Regions from separate parts of the Homo sapiens genome. Here region 1 is linked to region 2. Evidence: promoter capture Hi-C in human tissues and cell types (Jung and others, 2019). All regions are on one chromosome and are shown on one strand. Each heading gives the region's core, a stretch centred on a gene start or on the middle of the fragment in contact. The rest is flanking DNA. Distances are from core to core; before and after follow the strand shown. Region 1 overlaps MIR100HG (mir-100-let-7a-2-mir-125b-1 cluster host gene). Region 2 holds the start of SC5D (sterol-C5-desaturase).

Region 1 (2,730 bases), core at 94-2,593, 800 kb after region 2:
ACCTTCAAAAATTCTTAAAGCTGTAAAAGAATTTAGAGCCCAACTAATCCAACCCATGCATTTTAAAGATAAGGGTATTTGAGAAGAGTTGTTATTAATGTTTCTCTTTTTTTATAAAAGTTGTTATGAATAAAATATACTTCTCAGGTAGATGTTTCTTTAACTGAAGACCTTATCATCAGCCTCTTCATCATGCTTACACAATGAAGATGTCTAATAAGTCAGGCACACCAAAAGGGGTACACTATGACACATCACTGCTTTCTGCCCTAAACACTTTTGATACACCGAGGATGCTGGCTCCCTAGATGGCAGGTATAATATGTTTTTTAATCTGTAAAGTAACTAAGTGTTAAACGTTAATAGGTATTTTTCTGATTAAGCATGCAATAACTGATCTTGGATGAGTAATTAAATATACATCTTAAAGATTTTAGAATTTATTATTTTGTGAACATTGACAGGGATGATGGGGTGCTAAGCTTTTGATACTCATTTGTAAAACTCATTTTTTAATAAATTAAAATATTATGTATTAAGGAATAACATTTTGCACAATTTTTTATGGCTCATTTGGATATCTAATGATGGCAAATCCTTGAATACATGAGCAGGTGAAAAGTAAACCTTGTATTGCTTTGGTATTAGGTAGCTATACATCACGCAAAATGTCTCTTTCTAATAGGGACTCCATCATTAAAACAAATTTTGAGAAACAGATAGTATAAATATGTGAATGACCATATTCTAGGTGTCTACTATGAGTCAACTGTTCTACAAATCAGCTTTCTTTGGGCTCTATGCCTACTCAATTGCAATGAGTCATATCTTGTATCTCAATATAAGCCTCCCTTGGAATCCTTTTTGTCTCCCAAACACATAAGCATAAATCGAGACCCTTGTATTGCCTTGCCCGGGGTCCTTCTGTGACCTGATGGTAATGATTCTCCAAATTTGCATCAAGAGCCTCTTCACCTACTGAGCCAACTACCAGGCTGACCAGCCAACTCGCTGTTGCTCTGACTGGGCTATTCCTTAATAGGTAGATCTTCAGGGATCAGTTCCCTGGAAGGAGGCTCTCCAGTGGGGCCATCAGTAGACCTTGGACATCATGTCAAGACGTTAAAAGGGAAGTTGATGTTAGTGCACAAATAACCTAAGGCAGAGTTTCAGTATTCAACATGTGCCATGCAAAACAGTGAAAAACAATAAAAGAAATTGCTGATTATTGTTATTGTTTTGATTACTTTGGTTAAATTAAAATTATTATCTCTGCCTAAGGTCATTTCCCTGGCATTCTATTTTGTTATTCCAACAAAGGAACTAATATTCTCAATTACTTCAAGTTGTCTAAAGTCAGAAAAAGACTAAATCAATCAAGAGTAGCAAATATTTTACAAATTAAGCAAGTGTCCACAATGATAACCCTTTCAGAGATAATTAATTTCCAACATCTAGGTCGCACATATTTATTCTTGCATAAGAACACAGATCGTAGAGTCCTCGTATCCCTATATTAATTAACAAAGAATTTTTTTAAAATAAGCTTATTTTAAAAAGATTCTACTCAGGAACCATTTCAATGATGAGAAATGCACAAGAAAAGAAAAAAACTCAAGTAGGCAACATGTAAAGCAACAGACAACTATATGCACATTAGTATAATTACACATTGCAAATTATATCGGATGTATCTAATATCTAATTTTTTGAAAGCTGATTCCACTTGAGACTTCAATAACAGCATCAACATTTTGCAGGTGGCTCCTTCTGTATAGTATCCAAAGGGAATTATTCCTCTAATGTGCTTACAACCCTCAAGTAAAAGCTAAAGCTCTCTCTTAAAGGACCAATGAACAATGAACACTAGGAATATTACCTTGATAAAGGAAGGGGGGAGGGTTTCACCATACATAATATTCAGCACGGTTATTTATTCTCTTCCTTCTGTGCCCATGATATTTATTTGCTTCAAGCAATAAGAAACAAACTTAAACAGGAGACTCATTAGAAAATGTGAACGAGGCTACATCTATATTTTGAGGCAGCGATATAAGAAGCTAAGGGTTGATAATTTCTTAGATCACTCGATAATAGAGAAATGTTCAACAGAATGGCAGGTTATATCTTTGACTGAAAACAGAAAGCCCTACATTAAATTCAGCACTTCTAAAACATAGGATTAATTTGTCCTAAAGAGGACACCAGATCAAAGCTCTGCTTTGAGAAACAGGCTTTTGTCCTCATCTTTCTATATGAGTTAATCAATCATCAAATAACCAAAATAAATTTGTGATCTTGGAGAACGAAGCATATTATTCAAGGTGATTGGATCCATTTTCTTGATTCCTCCTTCAAGATCTTTCGGCTAATTAGTCAGGGTTACTATAGAATTATTTAATTATCTGCACTTTTGTGCAATAAAATATGTTGTCATATCACATACTTTATCATGCTGTTGCAGTTCACACTTAATGATGCCTCTATAGTTAGCTGTTTCCTTTGTTCTGCTCAGTAAGTGGTTTTAGAAAGAGGGTGGGCCGGGAAGGTGGAGCCCTGGGGTTTGTAAAATAAAATCATATATTCCTGGTCTACATGCCAAACTTTATGCATTTAAATGAATTTCTTCTTAGAAATTAAGTGGCAATTCCATTCGTAATAAGCTAAGAGGCACAGGTCGGTGACTTGGAATGCAACCGCAACAGTGTTACTATACCTTGAACATCTCTC
Region 2 (2,927 bases), core at 403-2,902:
GCAGCAAGCCACCATGGCACATGTATACCTATGTAACAAACCTGCACGTTCTGCACATGTATCCCAGAACTTAAATAATAATTAAAAAATACACTTAAATTTATTTTTAAACAAGATTGTTCTCTTGAGGTTAACTTATTACTACTTTGAGTTGTCAGGAGTGATTGCAAATTTCTTGGGAATCCCTAAGTCACCAAGAATAAAGACCACTTGTAATAGCTAAGGCATATTCAACAATAAAATTCTAGAGATTCAGGATATTTGATGTTTGCTTATAACATTTCACTTTTGAGCTTTTATTCGTTTAATAAATGTTTTATCATCTATGCTCAATAACATTTTAAAGTGTCCATTCAAATCATTTCATTGGGCAAAACAATGTTCCTTCCCTAATTTCCCTCATCAGAATAGCCATTTTGTCTCTGTGCTCAGCCTATACCACCAATTACTGTTTATTTCCTGTCCTTGTAATAAGCAACATAGTTATTTATACATGCCCATTTCTCCCACAGCACATAAGCTTTTTAAGGTTGGGAACCATGTCTTTGTCATTATTGTAACATCTCTTTCCATTCCCGGTGTTCAGTACGATGTGTTAAACGAAGTAGACACTCAAAACTTTTTAAAATTTATTTTTATTTATATAATGAGTCTTTTTTAAAAAAACCACCTACACTATTTTAAATTCATTTGAACTTTGTCCAGTATCCTATGTACATTTGAAGTTTAACTACCGGAAAAGTCTTTTGAAGGCAGATCGAATCATGTTATTTTTTTCCCTTAAAAATCCCTCATTTCTGTCATGTATTCCCCATATTATTTATGTAATAGGTAAAGTGGCCCAGTTTGCCACTTTGAAGTTGCTGAGCTGGTATCACAAGTCAGTCCCCTCTGTTTTAATCTCTGTTTAAGGAAAGTCACTCTGAAACGACAGATCTTTTGGTTCCTTATTTCTGCTTTCCTCCGTCCTCTTCTGCCTGTGAAGCCACCCTCCTCTGCTCAGCTCTGTTTCAGGAAATCGGAGCTGCTCGATTCATGTGTAGCAAATCAAAGCCAATTAGATCTGCGTTAACCTTGGTTTTCAACAACTTGTATCGTGAAAAGGTTTCTGTCCATGTTTACCCTCATCTTGTCACCATTTAGACCCCTACATACACCGGCTCGCGGAGCCTCCAGCCATTCAGCGCTAGAAAATCGGGGGGACTACGTCTTAAAACCTTGAGCACCTGTTTGGGAACATCTGCACCTCCTCCCTTGAGGGAGAAAACGACCCAGACATTCGCGTCAAAGGAAGTGTCGTCTATTTCCCTCAACGCAGGGCACCCGTTCTAGGAATGTTTGTATAAACACCGTAAACCTGCCTGGTACCACCATGAATGACACAAGAGCTAGTTTAAAAAGAAAGCAAAGAAACAAACGCAAAACCCGAAACCGCATCCTCCACCGCAAAGGTACTCGGATGGGGCGCCCGCCCTCCCCTTAGTCAGAGGACAAAGGGGGCGTGGCCGAGCGCGCGGCGCCCACGTGACCGCGGAGAGCTGCGCGCAGGCCCTTCGCGCGATCTGCCGTCATATCAGCTTATGGCGCCGGTCGCTGATTGGCTGGCCGCTCCAGCCTCCCGGCCCGCTTGCTGGCTGCCCAGCTGCTAGGACAGTTTGCAGAGCAGTGGCGTGCGGAGCGGCGGCGGACCACCTCCAGGTGGGGACGGTGGGTGGGCGGGGAAGGAAGCGGAATACACCTGAGCGGGCTGGGCCGGGGGGCGATGGAATAAAAGAAGATGGAGAGACTTCAGCGCCTGGGACTCGGGTGGGCGAGGCGGAAGGTGTCCTCGCAGCACGGCTTTTCTCCGCGCCGCGGTTGGTTAGCGAGTGCCCTCTGGGTGCTAGGCGTTGGGCGGATGGTAGGATCGCGGTAGCATACGGATCCGAGTCCTGCGCCGAGTGAGAGGAGAGGCTGGCAGGTAGCCTGGCATCCCGAAGACTGGCGGCGAGGGCTGGGCCGGGGGACCTCGGGGCCTGGAGGGCTGCGCCACCTGGGAGTCCGGGCGGAGGGGCCTTCCGCTCGCGCTGGGAGGGATCGCGGGGCCGATAGGGAGGCCTGGACTTGAAGGAGCCGACCGTGGACGGGCTTAAAGAAAATGCAGTGTTTGATGTTGGGTGTTGCAGATCTCTTACTCAAGGGAATTCTGGTCTGGCTGCTGAACACGAATGCTTTACTTTTCCCTTCGTTCTGGGAGGGTTTTTTTCTTTTAAAGGCCAGAAGAATCAGGCTGAAGAACTGGTCGGTATCAGAACTCCTGACCATTGCAAGCCTCTGTTGCTGCGGCGTAATTAGAATGAAGGGACAGCAATCTGGGGCTGAGGAGACTGAAAGGAAAAGGGAAATAATCTGTTCCTTTTGCATCATAAAAGGAAAAATAATGTATACTGACATCCCTGTGTTACAGCAGAGTAGATTTGGAGGTGGTGTAAGTGAAGAAAACAAGACCTCAGTACATAGAGTTTCCAAACTGGAAAGTTTGTGGCAGCTCGGTACTTTTAGAGGAAACCCTCTGGAAGTTATTTGTCTTTATATCACTATCATTTTTTAAAGTTTCTAATGATTGATACCTAGTAAATAATAACTGATCCTTGATCATTTACAGAGTGCTTTTCCATTCGTTATGTAATGTAATTAATTAGCATGGGGTGGTACTCAGAATCCCTCATCTGCATATAAAACATCTTGAGAGATAACATAACGTGGTAGCAAAGAGAAAGGTTGTGGAATGTACATCCCAGCTGGTTTTTTCTGTTATTGTTGCTTGCTACTGAACAAGTTATTTAAATACTCTGACCTCAGTTTCCCTATCTATAAAGTGGGGAGCATAGAAGTACCTATCTCATAGAGGTATAGGGATTAGATGAGGTTATACAAAAATAATACCT

What was found. The method cuts DNA at HindIII sites, captures the fragments that hold promoters and counts their contacts. A contact is called where the count stands out against the background at its distance.
Region 1: a contact is called between a fragment that was not itself captured here and the fragment with the promoter of SC5D in region 2, in 1 of the 25 tissues and cell types used here (hippocampus).

The regions. Positions count from the first base shown.
Region 1 is chr11:122,093,111-122,095,840 of GRCh38, forward strand. The region is part of intron 4 of MIR100HG (mir-100-let-7a-2-mir-125b-1 cluster host gene); the gene reads right to left. Among named protein-coding and RNA genes, the nearest start is that of MIR125B1, 5.4 kb to the right of the region's middle. The HindIII fragment of the contact is 3,331 bases long and covers 1-2,730 here.
Region 2 is chr11:121,291,119-121,294,045 of GRCh38, forward strand. SC5D (sterol-C5-desaturase) reads left to right here and starts at 1,653. Exons shown (of 5, transcript NM_006918.5): 1 at 1,653-1,698. RefSeq lists an enhancer at 1,395-1,444 and a silencer at 1,615-1,664. The HindIII fragment of the contact is 8,425 bases long and covers 1-2,927 here.